Linked DNA regions of Homo sapiens: all the other regions are linked to region 4. The links are contacts of gene promoters, found by promoter capture Hi-C in blood cells and fetal thymus (Javierre and others, 2016). All regions are on one chromosome and are shown on one strand. Each heading gives the region's core, a stretch centred on a gene start or on the middle of the fragment in contact. The rest is flanking DNA. Distances are from core to core; before and after follow the strand shown.

Evidence for each region. The method cuts DNA at HindIII sites, captures the fragments that hold promoters and counts their contacts. A CHiCAGO score of 5 or more calls a contact.
Region 1: a contact is called between a fragment that was not itself captured here and the fragment with the promoter of FAM98B in region 4, in 4 of 17 cell types (M2 macrophages, M0 macrophages, M1 macrophages and 1 more). The highest score is 14.0, in M2 macrophages.
Region 2: a contact is called between a fragment that was not itself captured here and the fragment with the promoter of FAM98B in region 4, in 1 of 17 cell types (monocytes). The highest score is 5.0, in monocytes.
Region 3: a fragment that was not itself captured here is called in contact with the fragment with the promoter of FAM98B in region 4 in 1 of 17 cell types (naive CD4 T cells); the score reaches 5.1 in naive CD4 T cells.
Region 5: a contact is called between a fragment that was not itself captured here and the fragment with the promoter of FAM98B in region 4, in 3 of 17 cell types (M2 macrophages, M0 macrophages and M1 macrophages). The highest score is 6.6, in M2 macrophages.
Region 6: a fragment that was not itself captured here is called in contact with the fragment with the promoter of FAM98B in region 4 in 2 of 17 cell types (naive CD4 T cells and non-activated CD4 T cells); the score reaches 6.0 in naive CD4 T cells.
Region 7: a fragment that was not itself captured here is called in contact with the fragment with the promoter of FAM98B in region 4 in 4 of 17 cell types (monocytes, M2 macrophages, M1 macrophages and 1 more); the score reaches 7.0 in monocytes.

Annotation. Positions count from the first base shown.
Region 1 is chr15:37,998,524-38,001,259 of GRCh38, forward strand. It overlaps a transcript of TMCO5A not described here. Among named protein-coding and RNA genes, the nearest start is that of LINC02345, 41 kb to the right of the region's middle. The HindIII fragment of the contact is 3,508 bases long and covers 1-2,736 here.
Region 2 is chr15:38,037,859-38,040,665 of GRCh38, forward strand. It overlaps LINC02345 (long intergenic non-protein coding RNA 2345), which reads left to right and starts at 2,535. Exons shown (of 4, transcript NR_120330.1): 1 at 2,535-2,571. It also overlaps a transcript of TMCO5A not described here. The HindIII fragment of the contact is 9,617 bases long and covers 1-2,807 here.
Region 3 is chr15:38,827,763-38,830,622 of GRCh38, forward strand. No RefSeq gene overlaps it. Among named protein-coding and RNA genes, the nearest start is that of LINC02694, 130 kb to the left of the region's middle. The HindIII fragment of the contact is 1,134 bases long and covers 770-1,903 here.
Region 4 is chr15:38,452,847-38,455,546 of GRCh38, forward strand. FAM98B (family with sequence similarity 98 member B) reads left to right here and starts at 1,281. Exons shown (of 8, transcript NM_173611.4): 1 at 1,281-1,386. The coding sequence starts at 1,316. RefSeq lists enhancers at 1,429-1,538, 1,599-1,698. The HindIII fragment of the contact is 3,660 bases long and covers 1-2,375 here.
Region 5 is chr15:37,982,426-37,985,356 of GRCh38, forward strand. It overlaps a transcript of TMCO5A not described here. Among named protein-coding and RNA genes, the nearest start is that of TMCO5A, 49 kb to the left of the region's middle. The HindIII fragment of the contact is 706 bases long and covers 977-1,682 here.
Region 6 is chr15:38,860,267-38,862,966 of GRCh38, forward strand. No RefSeq gene overlaps it. Among named protein-coding and RNA genes, the nearest start is that of LINC02694, 170 kb to the left of the region's middle. The HindIII fragment of the contact is 2,557 bases long and covers 94-2,650 here.
Region 7 is chr15:38,017,148-38,019,939 of GRCh38, forward strand. It overlaps a transcript of TMCO5A not described here. Among named protein-coding and RNA genes, the nearest start is that of LINC02345, 22 kb to the right of the region's middle. The HindIII fragment of the contact is 5,690 bases long and covers 1-2,792 here.

The DNA.
Region 1 (2,736 bases), core at 171-2,670, 450 kb before region 4:
TTTCTGGGGTCTCTATTTGATTCCATTGCTCTCTGTGTCTGTTTTTATGCCAGTATCATATAGTTTGGTTACTATAGCTCTGTAGTATAATTTGAAGTCAAGCAATGAAGTTCCTCCAGTTTTGTTCTTTTTGCCCAGGATGGCTTTGACTGTTCTGAGTCTTTTGTGGTTCCATATAAATTTTAGGATTTTTTTTTTATTTCTGTGGTGAATGTCATTGGTATTTTGATAGAGATTGCATTGAATCTGTAGATTGCTTTAGGTAGTATGGACATTTGAACAATATTGATTCTTCCAATCCATGAACACGAAATAACTTTCCATTTTGTTGTGTCCTCTTCAATTTATTTAATCAGTGTTTTATAGTTTTCTTTTTTTGTTGTTGTTGTTGTTGTTTTTTGAGATGGAGTTTCGCTCTTGTTGCCCAGGCTGGAGTGCAATGGCATAATCTCAGCTCACCGCAACCTCCACCTCCCAGGTTCAAGCGATTCTCCTGTCTCAGGCTCCCTAGTAGCTGGAATTACAGGCATGCGCCACCATGCCCAGCTAATTTTACATTTTTAGTAGAGATGGAGTTTCTCCGTGTTGGTCAGGCTGGTCTTGACCTCCCGACCTCAGGTGATCTGCCTGCCTCAGCCTCCCAAAGTGCTGGGATTACAGGCGTGAGCCACCACACCTGGCCCAATCAGTGTTGTATAGTTTTAATTATCATGATCTTTCTCTTCTTTGGTTAAGTTTACATCTAGGTATTTTATTTTATTTGTAGCTATTGTAAATGGAATTGCTTTCTCGATTTCCTTTTCAGATTGTTCACTGTTGGCATATAGAAATGCTACTGATTCTTGTATGTTGATTTTGCAGTCTGTACCTTTAATGAATATGTTTTAGTTCTAGCAGATCTTTTGGCAGATTTTTTAGGTTTTTCCAAATATGAGATTACATTATCCACAAACAAGCAGAATTTGACTTCTTCCTTTTGAATTTGCAGGCCCTTTATTTCCTTATCTTGTCTGATTGCTCTAACTAGGATTTCTAGTACTATGTTGAATAACAATAGTGAAAGTGACATCCTTGTCATGTTCCAGGTCTTAGAGAAAAGATTTTGGTTTTTCCTCATTCAGTGTTATACTAGCTGTGGATCTATCACATATGGCTTTTATTGTATTGAGGTATTTTCTTCCATACCCAGTTTTTTAAGGGTTTTTTTCATAAAGGGATGTTGAATTTTATCAAATGCTTTTTCAGCATCAATTGAAATGATCATGATTTTGTCCTTCATTCTGTTGATATAATGTATCATGCTGATTGATTTGCATATGTTGAACCATCTTTGCATCCCTGGAATAAATCCCACTTGGTCATACTGAATGATCTGTCTAATGTGTTGTTGAATTTGGTTTGCTAGTATTTTGTTGAGGATTTTTACATCACTGTTCATCAGCGATATTGGCCTGTAGCTTTCTTTTTTTGATGTGTCTTTGATTTTGGTATCAGGGTAATACTGGCCATGTAGAATGAGTTTGGAAGTATTCCCCCTCCTCAATTTTTCAGAATAGTTTGAGTAGAATTGGTTTTAGATCATCTTTAAATGCTTGGTAGAATTCAGCAATGATGCCATCAGGTCCAAGGCTTTTCTTTGCTAGAAGACTTTTGATTATGGCTTCGATCTTGTAACTTGTTATTGGTCTGTTCAGGTTTTGAATTTCTTCATGATTCAATCTGGGTAGGTTGTATTTGTCTAAGAATTTAACCATTTCTTTAGGTTTCCCAATTTATTGGCATAAAGTTGCTCATGGTAGCCTGTAATTATCCTTTGAATTTCTGTGGTATTGGTTGTAATGTCTCCTTTTTCATCTCAGAATTTTTTTTATTAGGGTCTTCTCTCTTTTTTTCTTAATCTGGCTAAAAGTTTCTCGGTTTTGTTTATCTTTTCAAAAAACAAACTTTTCATTTCATTGATCTTTGTGTATTTTTATTTAAATTTCATTCATTTCTGTTAAGATTTTTATTACTTCTGTTCTTATACTAATTTTGAATTTGATTTGCTCTTGTTTTTCCAGTTCTTTAAAATGTATAATTGTGTTATTTATTTGAAGTTTTTCTACTTCTTTGAAGGTGCTTATTGCTATATCCTTTCCTCTTAGTACTGCTTTTGCTGTACCCTAAAAGTTTTATGTTGTGTTTCCATTATCATTTATTTCAAGAAGACTTTCAATTTCCTTCGTAATTTCTTCATTGACTTGCTGGTCATTCAGAAACATACTGTTTACCAGTGTTTGTACAGTTACCAACATTCCTCTTGTTATTGATTTCTAGTTTTATTCCATGTGGTCAGATAAGATACTTGATATTATTTCAATTATTTTGAATTTTTAAGACATTCTGTGGCCTAACATATGGCCTATCCTTGAAAATAATCCATATGCTGAGTAAAAGAATGTGTATTCTGCAACCATTGGATGAAATGTTCTGTAAATATCTATTAGGTGCACTTGGTCTATAGTGCAAATTAAGTCAGATGTTTCTTTGTTGCTTTTCAGTCTAGGAGATATGTCCAATGCTGAAAGTTGGATGTGGAAGTCTCTGGCTATTATTGTATTGGGGTCTATCTCTCTCTTTAGCTCTAATAATATTTGTTATATATATCTGGATGCCCCAGTGTTGGGTGCATATACATTTAAAATTCTTATATATCCTCTTGCTGCATTGACCCCTTTATCAATATATAGTGACCTT
Region 2 (2,807 bases), core at 151-2,650, 410 kb before region 4:
AAAAATTAGCCTGGCATGGTGGCACATGCCTGCAGTCCCAGCTACTCTGGAGGCTGAGGCAGAATAATCGCTTGAACCCGGGAGGCAGAGGTTGCAGTGAGCCAAGATCACGCCATCACACTCCACCCTGGGCAACAGAGTGAGACTCCGTCTCAAAAAAAAAAAATAAAAAAAAAATACTAACAATAATTGTTAAAGTAAATGAAATCAACTATGTAAATATAAACATTCCTCACCATCCTATTTGCTCCATCAGAGTGTAATTATACATTTTCTTTTATAGATATAGAAAAAAAGTGATGAGACCCTGTTCATAGAAATGTCTGTTCCTACCGTGTCCAAGTAATCTTTGTTTCCTAGCAAAACTCTTCTATGAAGTACATCACATAAAATATTACTCCATCCATTTCATCTCTGTTTCCTATGATGGGACGATGGCACTGCTATAAATAAATATAAGGGGAACCACAGTTGATTCTATCCTCAGCAGAACAAAATTTTGCTTTGTTATGTATCTACTGGTATGAGATATGGAAGATGAAAATTTCTTTTTTTTTTTTTTTTGAGACGGAGTCTCGCTTTGTCGCCCAGGCTGGAGTGCAGTGGCTGCGATCTCGGCTCACTGCAACCTCTGCCTCCCGGGTTCATACCATTCTCCTGCCTCAGCCTCCCGAGTAGCTGGGACTACAGGCACCCACCACCACGCCCGGCTAATTTTTTATATTTGTAGTAGAGATGGGGTTACACCATGTTAACCAGGAATGGTCTCGATCTCCTGACCTCATGATCTGCCCACCTCGGCCTCCCAAAGTGCTGGGATTACAGGCATAAGCCACAACACCCGGCCTCGGAAGATGAAAATTTCAGTGATGCTTGAAACTTTTACTCTACTGGGTTTCAGACATTCATTTCCCATCAATTTTAAATTGCTTCATTCTCCCAACTAGGAAACTTCCAAGTCATCTGAGGTGAGTCTGGTAATAGTTACTCACTGTATGTTATAAGCAGCACGACTTTTCATATTAGTTACTGCACACTGAGTCATCTCTACAGTGCTTGAAATTAAAGTCAGATCACCAAGGAAGTGGAGGACATTCCACATGTATCCCTCTGCTACAGGATAAGATCCACCTTACTCTCCTCACTTAAGTCAGTCAGGAATTAAATGTAACAAGACAAAATGATATGACAAGGACAGTCAAGAGATTCACATCATCAGCTGTTTCCATCTGTCTAGAGGCAGGTGGAAAAAATGCAGGTTTTAATAGAATAGATTTAATTTAATAGATTTAAATAAGCTATAAGTTAAAATTCTGAGTGTAGGGCTGTTAAATATAGATATGGATGACTAAGAAAAATGGAATCATCCTAAGTAAATTCCAAAAATAGAAGTGGTGTTCACCAGGCTGGGCTTGTTTTGCTATTATTTGGCTAAAGAAGTGTAAGAGAAAACGAATGTTAAGTTCAAGATTATAGCTTCACAGTGAGCTAAGTAAATTATAACTACAGTATAACATAAGCTATATTAGGGCATGGCCTCAATTTCATGCATATCCTCTCAGTCCCATAGTCCCTAATAAATAGTAGCTCTCATTACATAAGTTATCGTTCCTCTTGTGTTCTGATCTTTTAGTGACTCTTTTTGGAACAGGATTTGTAGAGACTCCTATATGAGTCAAGCAGACAGAGTGGAACTCTGTTTCTTACTTCTGCCATCCCTATTTTCTCATTCTAGAGTATACCCCACAGGTATAGATTACTCTATAGCAACCAAGCACATACTTGAACTTCCATGGCAGTTTATCTTTTGTGATAATCATACTGATAAGTAAACAGAATATTTGCCTTGACAAGTAAACTCAGTGGCATCCAGCCCAGATTATATAATGGAACCAAATTCTCGACTGTTCTTAATGTTGCATAACAAATTGCCACAAACTTAGCTACACAAACACCACATATTATTATCTCAGTCTTCGTGGGTCAGAAGTCTGGGCACGAATTAGCTGGTCCTCTGCTCAGTTTCAAAGGCTGCAATCAAGGCATTAGCTGGGCCACATTCTCATCAAAGGTTCAACTAGGGAAAAATCCACTTCCAAGTTCATCCCAGTTGTTGACAGAATTCATCTCTTTGCAGCTACATAACTGGAGCCTCAGCTCTTCACTGACTGTCCTCAGGTTCCAGGGGCCACCTGCAGTTCCTTGCCACATGGATTTCTCCAGCATAGCTGTGTACTTCATCAAGGCACAAGGAGAGTCTCCAGTCTACCAGAGCCCTATGTAATGTAACATAATCAACAAAGTGACGTCCCATTCATATTCAATTGGTCAGAAGCAAGTTACAGTCCCCACCCAGGTCAGAGGGAGGAGATATGACAAAGAAGTAAACATCAGGAGGCTGGGACAATGGGGATACTTAAGGTCCATCCTGCTACAACTTCCACAATGGCGTCTTGACCATGAGGGCTCCACAGACACTGAAGCGGTCACCCAGGCTGCAAGTCTTGGAGGCATTCTCTAGGAATCACAGTCCCATTCTTCTGCAGGCAAACGGAGTCGCCATATGACCCAGTAAGTTTACTCTTAGGTACATTCCCTAGAGAAATAAAAATATATGTCCGTGCAAAAACATGTATGTGAGTGTTCGTAGCAGTGTTATTCATAATAGCCAAAAGGTGGAAACAAGCCAAATGTTTGTCAACTGATGAATGGAGAAATAAAATGTGGTATAACCATACAATGGAACATTAAACAGGAATAAAAAGAAATGGAATGCTGAGACATGCAACAACATGGATGAACCTCAA
Region 3 (2,860 bases), core at 87-2,586, 370 kb after region 4:
TTTTGTGCTTTCCTTGAGGCATTAAAAAAAAAAATCTCTATTCTGAGATCTTGGCAGTTCTTTCCAGGAGCTGAATTTGTCCCCTTTGCCCCTTCTCTACACCTCTCCCAATTGCTCTAGATCCAAAGAAACCATGATCTGAGCTGTGAAGTGTTCAGAGTCCTAAGTTCTAACTCCAATGAAGCTCTCACCTTACACAGTACCACATCCAAAAGGGGCCCAGGGCTTTTCTAGGGATCTGTCCTCAAGTTGGAAGCCAGGGGTTCTCTGGGCTGAAAGTCTTTTTTGATCAGAGAAGCCAAGCAGGGTGACACCCCAGTCCCCTGAAGAGGCCACAGAACTTCAGATATATATTTCACATCATAGCACTCAAGTTTAGGCAGTGTTTTGGACAACAAATGTCTGGGGTGGAAATTGCGTGTATGCTGACCGTGAAAATGAAATTAGAGTGTTCCTCTGTCCTTGAGAGCAGGAATTCCATTGTTTGGCCCCATGTGACCTAAATTTGACTCTGAATATCTTTGGATACCACTAATAACCATGACTATTGAATGGTGGGAAGGTGATGACATGAATTTCCTCAAACTCAGAGGGACATTCCAGAGGGAAACTGGGTGACTCCAGTGTTAGCTCTTTTTCTGCTTAGCTATCAGGGGAGTGAATTGTACCTCAACTGGTTCTGGAGCCTTCATTCCTTATCTCCATTAGACGTCAGGAAATGTCTCTAAGCCCTAATCACCCGATGGTATTTTATAAAGCACTATGCCTAAGCTTCCCTTTTCAGTTGAAATGTTGAGGACTGAAGTGGGCAATGAAGACCTTGTTTCTTTGGCTACTAGCCAACCTGGATTAAAGAAGAAAAACAGCTTTGACAGAATTTCTTTTGAGGTGGTCCAAAGACTGTTTTCTGGAACATAAAAAGCATCTATATTCCACTGTGATTTTGTTAACTGTTTGCAGTAAAGTTTGAAGGTGTTTGGCCCAATCTGAATACCAGTTAACCCACGATCTCTGTTTGATACATCTATCCCCAGCTGGTGACATGCTCTTATTAATCCTTTGATCTAGTTGGGTATCTAGTGTGTGGTGCTGAAACAAAATTTTACCCTGTGCACGAATCTCGCTTCTCCATCTTATTGAAAGATGAAAGCATAAGATGGGACATGAGGCAGAAGACAGGGTTTTGGTATCCAGTTCTGGGGCTTGAGGACATTTTAAGCCTCAATTTTATGTATAAAATGGCAACAAAGACTTCTATTTGTCACCATCATTGAAAATAATCAGATGAGATAATGAATTAAAAGTGCTTTGTACATCAAAAAGCCCTGATTAAACAAACACTACTTCTAAACAACTTGATGAATACAACTCCTACTAATATAGACAGGCTAGAAGCAAACTTTAAGCATAGATCTAAATTTTCAAGGAATGGAAAGTGGCTCAATCTTAAGTATCTTTTCACATGACTTGCTCTCTGTTTGGACATTTCCGAGAACTGAAAGTTACCATGTTGCTAGAAACTCATACAGTCATTGGAGGTGTTCTTGGTGCTGAGTGATAGAGCCACTGGGGGTGTTATTTCCCAACAGAATTTCCATTGTCTGCTGAATTTGTTTTTGTTGGCTTGACTCTTCTATTGAAATCTCCCTGATATCCTGTTATTAGGAAACTTGGGGATTATTTTCCCTTCTGTAAAATGGGGATAATATCCCCTAGGGTTTTTGGAAGATTTACGATGAGATATTCTCTGTAAAGTACTTACGATAAAACGTTGTCCACAATATGTATATAATAAATGTTAACTATTACTATTATTGCTGTTATTACTTTGATTACAATTATTGGGTGAATGACAAATTGTAATGGTCACTTTTCTCCCTTTGACCAGTCATTGACTAAATTAAGCTTCAAGTGCTTTTGGAAGGAAGAATATGTGAGATATCTAAGAAAAGTTGATAAAATGTTATCTTCTTTGATAATAGAATGACCAATCGTTGACTTTTTTTTTTTTCCTTCTTTTGAATGACAGAGAAATGCCAGCTCCCTGTAAACATGAGAAAGCCCAGATGAAATAAATAAGGTGCTTCACATTCTGCCTCTCAGCCACATGCTCTGGGCAAGAGATTCTAATTCTTCAGAATAGCCACTTCCCAAGTTCAAATGGGGCCATCCTTCTTCTCTGGCACTGGCAGTGAGTGCTGGGGCAGTCTGTATCATGTTATGGCAAATTACCTTGAGGTCACAAGCCAATTTTTTGTTCCTATAGAAACATTGACTGTGAGAAGATAATGGCCAATGTGTTTTAAGCACTTTGTATTTGCAAGGGACTGCTCTAAGTACTTGATAAACATCAACTTCTTTAATCCTCACAACTCTATGAGGTAGGGATAATTAGCATCATTTTCCAGGTAAGGAAACTGAGGCCCAAAGATGTTAAGTCATCCAGACAGTAAATGGTTGTGTCAGGATTAATGCACAAGCACCTTCATTCTTGACCATTACCCTCTGAAAAAAGGGCTAAGGTGGAGAGTGTGGCTCTGGGGCAGGGCAACTCTAAACAGGAAACATGCTCCTTCACAAATGTGCTGGATTCTACCTCTTTCAGTTAAAGATAAAAGGAACCTTTACGTGTGAACTCAGTCTTCTCTCCAGGGTCTTTAGCTGACAGAGTGCCATCATTTTGCATACAGATATAACTCTTATTGTCTGTGGCTTCCATCTTTTACTTCAGACTATATGTCTGGGTTGAGTGGTTCAAATAATGGCAGATTATAAAGTGCTTTCATTTATTCCAACTCTGTGAAATAAGAATTTCATAGTGAGAAGCTTCCCAGAGACAGAGAGAGAAGAAACTTGTGTA
Region 4 (2,700 bases), core at 31-2,530:
CTGGGCGACAGTGCGAGACTGAAAAAAAAAAAAAAAGTGTGTGGCACCTCCCTGCCTCCCTGCACCCTCTCTCTTCCTCTTACTCCGGCCACGTGATAGCTGCACTCCCCCTTCCCCTTCTGCCACAACTGTCCATTTCCTGAGGCCTCCCCAGGAGTGGAGCAGATGCCAGCATCATGCTTCGTGTACAGCCTGTGGAACCATGAGCCAATTAAACCCCTTTTCTTTATAAATTACCCAGTCTCAGGTATATCTTTATAGCAATATGAGAGTGGACTACTACAGCTTACCTTTGAGTGTTTTACACATTTATGGGTATGCTTTTTGTTTGTAACCATAATTAGGAAGGCGAGAGCATTACTGGTCTTTATTGGACTGGGGCTACGAATGCTATGTAGTCTGCAATGGAAGGGACAGGTCCATACAAGGGATCAATAGTTATACTTCATGCAGGATTTCCAACAGTTCTGCTAGAGTATTCATGTAGGTGACATGCCTGCTAATAATGATCTAACCTTATACTCTTAGTACCTTTTACATATGAACCCTAAAATACATTTTTTAAATCCTTTAGATAAGAGATTGAATTCTTCATGGATAGTACACAGAGGGTATATTATGTTTTGTTTGTTTGGAACTTTACAGAGAATTCGCCACAATTTTGGAAAACCACATCAACTACCTTACTTTGCTGGCGGTATGTTTGTTGCTTATACAACTAATGCTTTGTCAGCAATGAAGCACATCATCTGAATATGCAGTTGAGGGGATTCTACATAGATAGATGCAAGCATCTGATCACTTCATTGGTCTTCCGCATTTCATAAGGAGAAAAATATTACCTTGTTATAAATTACTTCATTTTTTCCTTCAAGTTGAAGCATCGTCGTGTATATTGATTTAAAAATTATATGTGTAGGCATGTGATATTAGTTACTAATTTTAGCTGAAGATAATTATAATTTTATTTCAGATTTCTGTTATTAAAAAGGTCTGGAATCGGATAGGTTGAGATCAACCCGATACCACGATATTTGCTAAAATTTATTTGAACACACAGAAAAGTCCCAACACAGAGAACTCTTTATTACTATTATTTATTATTTCTACTATTCTTTTAAAAAATTATTATCGTTACACGCAGCGGTTTTAGGCACTATGAAGTGTTTATTGCCTCGGGGCTGGGAACCTTTGCGCCCTTCTTCAGCTGTGCTCTCAGGCAGTTACCGGCCAGACCCGGACCGGAACCTTGGCGCGGTGACGCTAGTTTCCGGCGGGCTACTTAGAGCGCCGAACAGCTCTGGGCCAAAGGACCATGAGAGGGCCGGAGCCGGGTCCCCAACCGACGATGGAGGGAGACGTGCTGGACACACTGGAGGCGCTGGGGTGAGTGCTTTTGGAGACGCCTTTTCCCTGAAAACGCAACCTCTCCTTGGCCTGGCTGCTTAGCCTACTTCCCTTGGGCCTCTGTGGGCCTGGGCGGCCATGTGTAGGCCTCCTTCCCTGCCTCGATCCCTCCGGCGCCGACGGAGTTAAGCGGGAGGCGGGAGAGAAATCTATTTGGGGGGTGGAGCAGGGCCGGAGAGCTGGGGTTCGTGGCCCCCTCTTCGAAACTTCTTGCCTCGAAACTCTGTTGCAGGAATCCGCCGGGTGGCGCGGAGCGGCCCTTCTAGCACCGGTTTTCTGGGCTAGCTCGCGCCCGCAGGTGATATTTGTGTTGACGTAGTTCTGGCGCCCGGAGGGAGGTGCTGGAACCTGAGCTGCTGTTGAGGACTGTTGTCTCCTACAATGTACAACTTGTGGCTTACTTGGGGCTCTGGAGCGAATGGCTTTTACTTTGACCGGAGAAAGTGTTGTAGTTCATTGCGAGTTCGTTCTTTCAACCATTTCGTCCGTTCGTCAACGTGTATATTAGCTTGTATATTAATTTACACATATTTACGTTTGTAAATTTCCCCTAGGCAAGGGAAAAGGATAGTTTTTCAGATTACTCTTGGCTTACATAGTCGCGCAGGCTGCAAGTCTGCTGCCGGCTGGTATTTACAGTGCAGAATGGTAAGTGCTGTGAGAACTCAGGGTGGAGGTGGGAGTAATGTTAATACTTAACAAGTGTGGTGGTTCGTAATCTCCCCCTCAACCTCATCCTGTTTTTTTCCACACAGCTCTTGTCCCCATCCCAAATTATCATGTCCTGCCCATTCATTTGTCTCTTGAACTCTGCTTCTCCCTCGTTTTATTCCTCCTCCTCCCCAAGTCAGCTCCTGGAAAACTGATGCTTTGCATATTTTATTCACCGATGTTTTCCCAGCAACACACTAGAACGGAGTCTTTTACAGTAAATAGTGGTTGAATGAATGAGTAAATGAATGAAGAAAAGCTTAGAGAAGAGTCCACAGCAGTAAGCATAGGACCAGATAGTTGAGTCATACAGTGCACATTAAATAAAGAGCTTGGAGCCATCTGCACATTTGTTTGCCCTGCTACGTGCTGCTGTTTCTTGATAGGGGAAGCTGTGCCTTTGCAGCGTTATTATGAAGCTTGAACCAATCCCACACCCCACTTTATCTTCTCTAAAACTGCATTTGCCCCTCTATCAATTGTTTCTTTAGTTGAACCCTGATAATACCTACTTTGCAGTGACCCAGGGTTACGGAGTCTTGCACTTAGTAGATCGTGAATACATATTTGTCAAACGAAAGA
Region 5 (2,931 bases), core at 80-2,579, 470 kb before region 4:
TATTACAATTATATACAAATATATATAACACCTATTATATAATAGATATTTTATGTATTATATATTATCTATATATAATAGATATTATATATTATCTATATATAATAGATATTATATATTATTATGATATATAATTGTTTATATATTATTTAATATATTATATATACTATAATTTATAATATATAATTATATATTATATCTAACATATAATATAGATATATAGTAGGTATATGATATATATCAGATATAATATATTAACACATATGTTATATGATCTATGTTTATAATTATATAAATATCTATAATATATAAATATATATAAATATATAATATATAAATATATTGAGTTATATTATATAACAGACATATATAATAGATATTATATTTCATATATATATGTGTGTGTATATATATATTTATATATGATTCATGGAGACAAAGGCAAAGGATGCCTGTCAGTCATCATACTGCAGAAACTGAATCATCCCCTTGGACATGTTTTATTTTTTCTATTCATAGTCCTCTCTCTTCCCATCTCTTTAATCAATCTACCTTTCCCCTCCTCATCGTAGCCTAAAATAAATTGCTGCCTAGAACCATTCAGCTCTCTCTCTTAACTTTTATTTTCTACCCAGTAAAACTAAAGTTTGGGAGCTATCCGTACAGTAAGCTGAGTTCATTCTTCCATATACATGCAAGTGTGTCAGCAGACCCAGAAAGAGCATGTCATGTGCTTGCCATGACACTCACCTTTCCCCCTTATACAAACATGATAATGTTCCATTTATGGGCACTTACGATGTGCTAGGCACTTCACTTTAGTGCTTCATGTGCATCATTGTTTTACACAATCTTCTAAGGTAGATATCATTATGCGCAGTTTCAGTTCACAAATAAGCCAGATTCACTGAGTAAACAGCACAACCTAGGTTCTGAGTTGAAAAAAAACAGGATATATGCCTGTATCTGGCCCCAAAGCTTGGCCTGTCTGTAAAATCTCTATTGCTTCTGACAACAGGCATTGAGCAGATGGCTGGCCAGGGAGATGTTGGGGCACAGCCCAAGGTAGGGGAAAGTTCACCTACCTGTGAAGGGAGAAACCCCAACCTTGACTACATTTATAGAAGAACTAGGCACCAGAGGGACTCTCAAATCACAGACTCATAGAATTGGCAAGAAATTTAGAGATTATTTCTCAGGTACCATGAGGTACTTTCCCAAGATCACACAATTAACTAGTGACAGAGCTAGAATAAGATCCCAGTCTTGTGAGTCCTTTTTTTTCTTTTTACTGTTTTTTTTTTTGTTTTTTTTTTGAGATGGAGTTTCGCTCTTGTTGCCCAGGCTGGAGTGCAATGGCATGATCTCGGCTCACTGCAACCTCCGCTTCCCAGATTCAAGTGATTCTCCTGCCTCAGCCTCCCAAGTAGCTGGAATTACAGGTGGCTGCCACCACACTCAGCTAATTTTTGTATTTTTAGTAGAGACGTAGAGACGGGGTTTCACCATGTTGGTCAGGCTGGTCTCGAACTCCTGACCTCAGGTGATCCACCCACCTCGGTCTCCCAAAGTGCTGAGATTGTCAACTACACTTATGTCTTCTGAGGTCATGAGAGGATACATGTTGCTCATCTAACTCTTCTAAGTCTTACGTATTCTAAGTGTTGCTTCTGGGGAAATAAAGCTTCATATTCCTCTCCATGCTTCTGTAAAAAGTAAGGGGGGCAGGGTAGAGAAGAAAGGGTAACACTTGAAATACATGAAGCTTTTTTTAGCAAAGCACATTAATAAATCTTAAGCTGTGCAAAGTGTGAATGAGGGAGGAGGTGGTAAGTGCTAGAGCTAAAATGCTCTTCATAATAATATAAGGATTTTTTTTTATCACAACTGGGAGACAGAGAAGCAGTAGGAGAGAAAGCTGAACAATGTCATGAGACTCTGAAATCTAAGTTGGTGGAAATGGAGAAGGGACTTTCAGAGGACCAGAAAAGCTAATATTCAATGTTAGAATATTTTCTAAACAGCGCTGCAACATGAGTACATGATTACCTCAATATCCAGTAAAATCTGCCACACATAGTTGTAGATATTTGCTTGTGCAAGTTGCTTCTTGTTGACTGGTTGTTATGGTTTGAATGCATGTGTACTTTCAAACTTCAAATATTGAAACCTATCACCAAGGCAATGGAGTTACAAGGCAGGGCCTTTGGGAGGTGATTAATGTCCTTAAAAAAGAGGCTGCAGAGAACATTTGTCTTTTTTTTTTTTTTTTTTTTTTTTTTTTTGCCTTTCCACTCTTCCACCTTGTGAGGACACAGCAACAAGCTGCCCTCTTGGAAGCAGAAAGCAGCTCTCACCAGACATCAAATCTGCCAGCACATTGATCTTGGACTTCCCACCCTTCAGAACTGTGAGACATTTCTGTTGTTTATAACTCACCCTGTCTATGGTATTTTGTTATAGCAGGAGAAATGGACTAAACTACTCTTACAAGTGAATTTTGGAAGAAAGAAAGAGTCATGTCTGAACTTTAGGTCAATGCTGGATTGGAGATAAACAAATAGCCATTAGTTATAGAATGAAGTATTCCACAAATACTAGAAGAAAGTATTTGTAGAAATGTTCAGGGAAAAAAAAAAAACAACAGAACAGAACATAGAATGGGGGATGGAGCAAGGCAATCTTAGAATCAAAGAGTGGGTGGCTTCTTCTGACATCTAGATTATAGAAGATTCTTCAACAGTGTTGTCTTCTTTCCTCTTCATTCTCTCAAAGAAGTCAATAAAAGCTCCCTCTCACTTTCCCACCACACAAGAGGCAAACCATGTGGAAGGTTATAGAATTCCACCAGATTTTAATTGTGAGGTTGTAGGGTAGGTAGGTGTTAATTTTTCTCCTAAAATTAGAATGATTTTCCCTGGGTTGTTTTAT
Region 6 (2,700 bases), core at 122-2,621, 410 kb after region 4:
GGTTAGGAAAAGGAGTCTCACAGCCTTGGGCCTCCAAAAGAAAGAACCCAATTATATCAGATGCCCATTTCCTTCAGGGGTCATAGAAAATGAAGCTTGCTTCACCTCAGGGGCTCATGAACATTTTTCCCGTTGTTTCTGGATCATCTGGGTTGATTGTGCAAGACAGTTACTTTCCTGTTATGCAGTCACCCAGAAACAGAAGCAGAAGCGGCACACACTCTGTGATCTTTCCCACTTCCTTTCAGCCAATGCTATATTGAACTGTTCCTGAAATCACTCCAAACAACTGCCAATGGTGTTTGCATCTCTTCCTATCCCAAGTTCCCACAATCCCCAGCAGGGGTGTTGATGGTGCCCACAGCCTTTCCTCTTCACCTTGGTAATATCAGGTGAGTAAAACTGGCCCTCTATGCCCATTGTCTCCACCACACCAGCCATTCCTGAGATGTGGAATTCTATAGAAAGCATGTGGGTCACCAGCTGGTTTTAATTAATTGAAAACAATTCTGACTACCTGTTCTGTTCTGGGAATTGTGCTGGGTGTTTGACCCAATATGGAGAGGGGAGGCCCTTCCTGGCAAGAAAGCTGTTCATTTATTCAATTCTTTATTCATTTCACAGTTATCAGCTGCTTACCACATGCCAGATGGTGTTCTAGCTGCTGAGGAATACAGCAGTAAACAAAACCCAAAAAGTTGATTTTCTCATAGAGCTTACATTCTAGTGTGGGAAGAGAAATGATAAACAATAAATATAAATGAGTAAGATATATCAGGTTATGGTGGTCTTTCTGATGTGTCAATTTGAACAGACTATAGCCTTTAATTATCCAATCCAACACAAATCTAGATGTTGCTGTGAAGGTATTTTATAGATGTAATTTAAGTCCATGATCACTTGATTTTAAGAGAGATTATCCTGGAGAATCTGAGTGAGTCTGATTCAGTCAGCTTGAAAGGCCTTAAAAGCAGGACTGAGGCTCCTCTTAGAGGAGAAATTCATGTGTAAGACAACAGATTCAGCCCATGCCCAGGAGTTCCAGCCTGCCCTTATGGTTGGCCTGACCTATGGATTTTGGACTTATTTATGCAGCTGCCACAATTGCCTAAGCCAATCTCTTGCAGCAAACTTCATGTCATCCTTTATTGGTTCTGGTTCTCTGGTTTAACCCCAACTGACTCAGTGCTATGAAGAAAAATAAAGCAGGAAAGGGGATAAACCTGGTTATGGAGTAGACATAAAGACAAAAAATTAAAGCACAATTCACTCTTGCTATCATGCCTTTATGGGTACAGTGGAAGTAGAAATTAATCTACTAGTATCACAAATTTCCTTTCTTCAAAGCAAAGATCCTAAAGCTCAAATCCTGTGGGATATTAAACAGGGAACTTTTTTTTCTGAGCCCTTTTCAATTTCTAATTTCTAAAATAGGAATGCCACCTTTATATGATTAAAATGTAAGTGAGATAAGACTATTATATATAAATTATCTAGCACCCTTCTTGGAACATAATAAACTATCTTCTATTTTTTATTACCTTCTTACTAATACCTGTGAACATGTCTGCTATATGAATATCATGGTAATTCAGCATTGTCTTTACATCATACGTATTCCCGTGTATCTGTGGCCAATTCATACCCAAGGCAGACAGATAGTTAAGCTCCTCAGTGCATGCATTTACTGGTAGAACGCAGGTTGATGAGCCTGGGAAGGTAATGAACTGGGAATTACATATGGATGAAGAAGGATTAGGCTTATCTATAAAAACCAGTCTACTCCATTATTCCCTATCATATTGAAACTTTTCTCAACTTTCTCTTAATTCTGTAGAGAAATATCTGGTACATCAAAATTTCTATTTAAATGTCTTCAAAGTAACCAAATTGATATATCAGTGAACAAGCACTCTTCCATTGCAAGGCTCCAGCTAAGATCTCATTGTCAAAGAACTTCAGACAGTTGGTAGGGAGAGATGAGATGGGGAGGAATGCTCTGTTATGTGAAATATTTCAGAACTGGAGTTTCTGGGCAAAGGAAATAACTGTCATTTTGGTACACGTTGGCATTGAGAAAATGCATAGAAGAGTAATTATCTGCTTGAAACACTCCACATGACTATGTACACCCTTCCTTTTTCTGATTAACTAGACTGGAAAACATATTTCCAGGGCTGTTTTGGCTTTGAGTAAGATGGTACAGTATTCATCCTTGTAGTTTATTTGGAATAGGAAGAACATCTAGCTTGTGGGGGTACATAAGGTGGTGTCTCCCAAGAGTCTCTTAAATAAAAAGAGGCACTCCAAGTCTGTAGTTCCTGGTTCTAGTTTAGCATTTTTGCTGAACAGCAAAGGATTACATTCCCACATCTTCTTGAAATAAAGGCTAGAATGAATCTTCAGTGATTCATTCACTCAAAAGCCATTCTTTTTCATTGGCTACTATGGGCTAACCATAGATCTCATGATAGGGCCACATCTGAACAACTAAGGCAAGTTCCTGTCTTTGTGGTTACTTTGCTAGTGGGAAGTTTAGATGGAATAAATAACATTTATAGAACACTTTCTATGTGCAAGCTCTCTGTCTAGGTAATTAAATGTGGAGCAGTCCAGCAATGGGTAACCTGTGTCCCTGCACATGGGAGGAAGCTTGGAATGGGGACCACGGGCACACAGGAAAATACTGGACACTGTAGT
Region 7 (2,792 bases), core at 85-2,584, 440 kb before region 4:
GTGAAAGCAATGAAACCTTCTGCAAATGACCAGAAACTTAAGGAATTTCTGGATATTATAAAAGCATATAGAATCAAATTAATTTATAAGTTAATTGCCAAAACTTCTGCCTCCTAATACTAGTAAAGAAGGAGGGGTGATGGAGGAGTGCATAGTTTGGTTTCCTAACGGAGTTCAGAAAAGTTTAAATCTCCGAGAAGCAGGAGTGGGTCATGGAAGCATGGGAGTGCGTGGGGTCTTAGAAATATGGCAGGAGCTGGGCCAGAATCCTGCTCTGTGCAAAGCAACTCCCTAACAAAAATGGTAACCTGCCTGCCGGAGAGGAGCCAGAGAAATGGCTGTGCCTTGTTCAAATTTAGATCGGTATAATGGAAGAAAAGGAAAAGGAAAAAAGCACTCAGTGGTACAGGAAAGGCTTTTAAAGCATTGTCTTCATCATAAGAAGTTCCTGCTTCCTCAGTTGAGGGGCTCCTATTCTGTCAGTCTGCTTACCATTAAAACATCCTAGAAGAAAACACAGCTTTTAGAAGTGCCCACCTACTCACTGCATCTGAGTAAGGGTACTCAGAGGGCACCGCAGGCAGTCATCTGAAAAGCAAGGAGGCCTGCAGATATGATTTGTCTCTGTGTCCCCACCCAAGTCTTATCTCCAATTGTAGTCCCTGTATGTTGGGGGCAGGGCCTGGCGAGAGGTGATTGAATCATGAGAGTGGACTTCCCCCTTGCTGTTCTTGTGATCGTGAGCGAGCTCTCATGAGATCTGGTTGTTTGAAAGCGTGTGGCACTTCCCCCTTCACTCTCTCTCTCTCTTGCTCTGCCATGGGAAGATGTGCCTTGCTTCCCCTTTGCCTTTTGCCACAACTGTAAGTTTCATGAGGCCTCCCCAGCCATGCAGAACTATAAGTCAAACCTCTTTTCTTCATAAGTCACCCAGTCTCAGGTAGTTTTTTATAGCAGTGCGAAAATGGACTAATACACCTGCTTAGGGCTGTGTATCAGTGACATTCACAAATTCTGAAGAAACCCACACTTGATACCATCGTTAATCAAGGCAAGCCTTTACTGGTAAACAGTAATAGACAACAAAGAAGAAAGTCAACAGGCTAAGAGAAGGGCACCAACATAACTAAGCTGAAGACTTAACTCTAAGTAAAGAGCGTTAAAGCAAGAAATAGGAGACAACTTTAAGAAATTTTTAAAATTATTGTCCTCAGAGAGAGTTAAGTGGCCATTAATTAGTAAAATGAAGAAATCTGGTTTCAAAAAAGAAAGCCATTGGAGAACAAGTGCACTCTAGAAATTAAAAACATGACTTTAAAAGTAAAATTTCAGTGGGAGGCAAAATAGTAGAATGAAAATAGATTAATAAAAATTGTTGGCCTGTAAAAACAAGTAATAGAATTCTACCCAACTGGCAAAAAAAAGAGATGTAAATGATTAAAGATAAATGATATGGAAGATAGGTCTAAAAAATTCCACATATAGTAACAGGAGATGAAGAACGAAAAAAATAGAGAAAATGAATGAAAGCAATAATCAAAGAAATAATAAAGAAAATTTCCCTGATCTAAAGTTTTCTATCTTCAGATTAAAAGGGTTCAGTAAGTGAAGAGCAGTAATGTTATTTTTTTTTTTACATACAGATTTCAAAATCCAGGATTAAAATTAAAATATTTTAATTTTCCAGAGAAACACAACAATTTATGCATAAGAAATGAAAATTAGATGGGCATGGAACTTCTTACATACAACACTAGATGTTAAAAGACAATGGAGCTCTGTTTATGAAGTTATGTGGAAAAGTAGTTTAAACCTTAAATTCAATATGCAATCAAAATTATCACTAAGTATGGAGGTAAAGAATATTTTCAGATATGCAATGACTCAGATAGTATACCACCCATATATTCTGAGAGAGAAATAAAAGAGCCCCCAGAATGACTTCTGTAAAATGAAAAATAAATCATAGTGAAGAATTCAAGAAAGAGGAAGATGTGAAACTAAACCAATAAAATAGTAGTGGGCAAAGAAATCAGTAAAATCCTTGAGTCAAAATGATTGCAGATAATGTTGTGAAACTTAATGGCACTGTTAGGAAAAAGATGACTAAAATAGAAGTTAATAATATTTCTAAAACTGAAGCAATCTGGAACTAAAATTCTTAGTAATTTCAATCTCAAGTAACAAGGAAAAGGGAAGTAAAAGCTAACTAGAATATTTATTTTGCATGGATGGGATAATACAAATTCTGGTTAATTCTTCTAAGGAAAATATAGGTCAGTTTATCAGAAGTTTCAATTTTCCTTTTTTTTGTAAATAGACTTTACATTTTAGAACAGGTTTAGGTTTGTAACAAAATTGAGTTGAAAGTACAGAGAAGTCACATATTCCTCCTACCCGTTCACATTCACAACCTCCCCCACTGTCAGCATCCCCCACTAGAGTGGTACATTATACTAGAGTTCACTATTTTCTTAAGACACAGGGTCTCACTCTGTCACTCAGGCTGGAGTGCAGTGGTAAAATCATAGCTCACTGCAGCCTCAAATTCCTGGACTCAAGTGGTCCTCTCACCTCACCCTCCTGAGTAGCTGGGACTACAGGCAGTGCCACTATGTCTGGCTAATTTTTTTTTTTTTTTAATTTCATAGAGACGGGGTCTTGCCTTGTTACCTAAACTGGTCCTGTATCCCTGGCTTCAAGCAATCCTCTAGCCTCTGTCTCCCAAAGCACTAGCATTACAGGTTTGAGCCACCATGCCCAGCTGTGGTTCTATGGACTTGGACAAATGT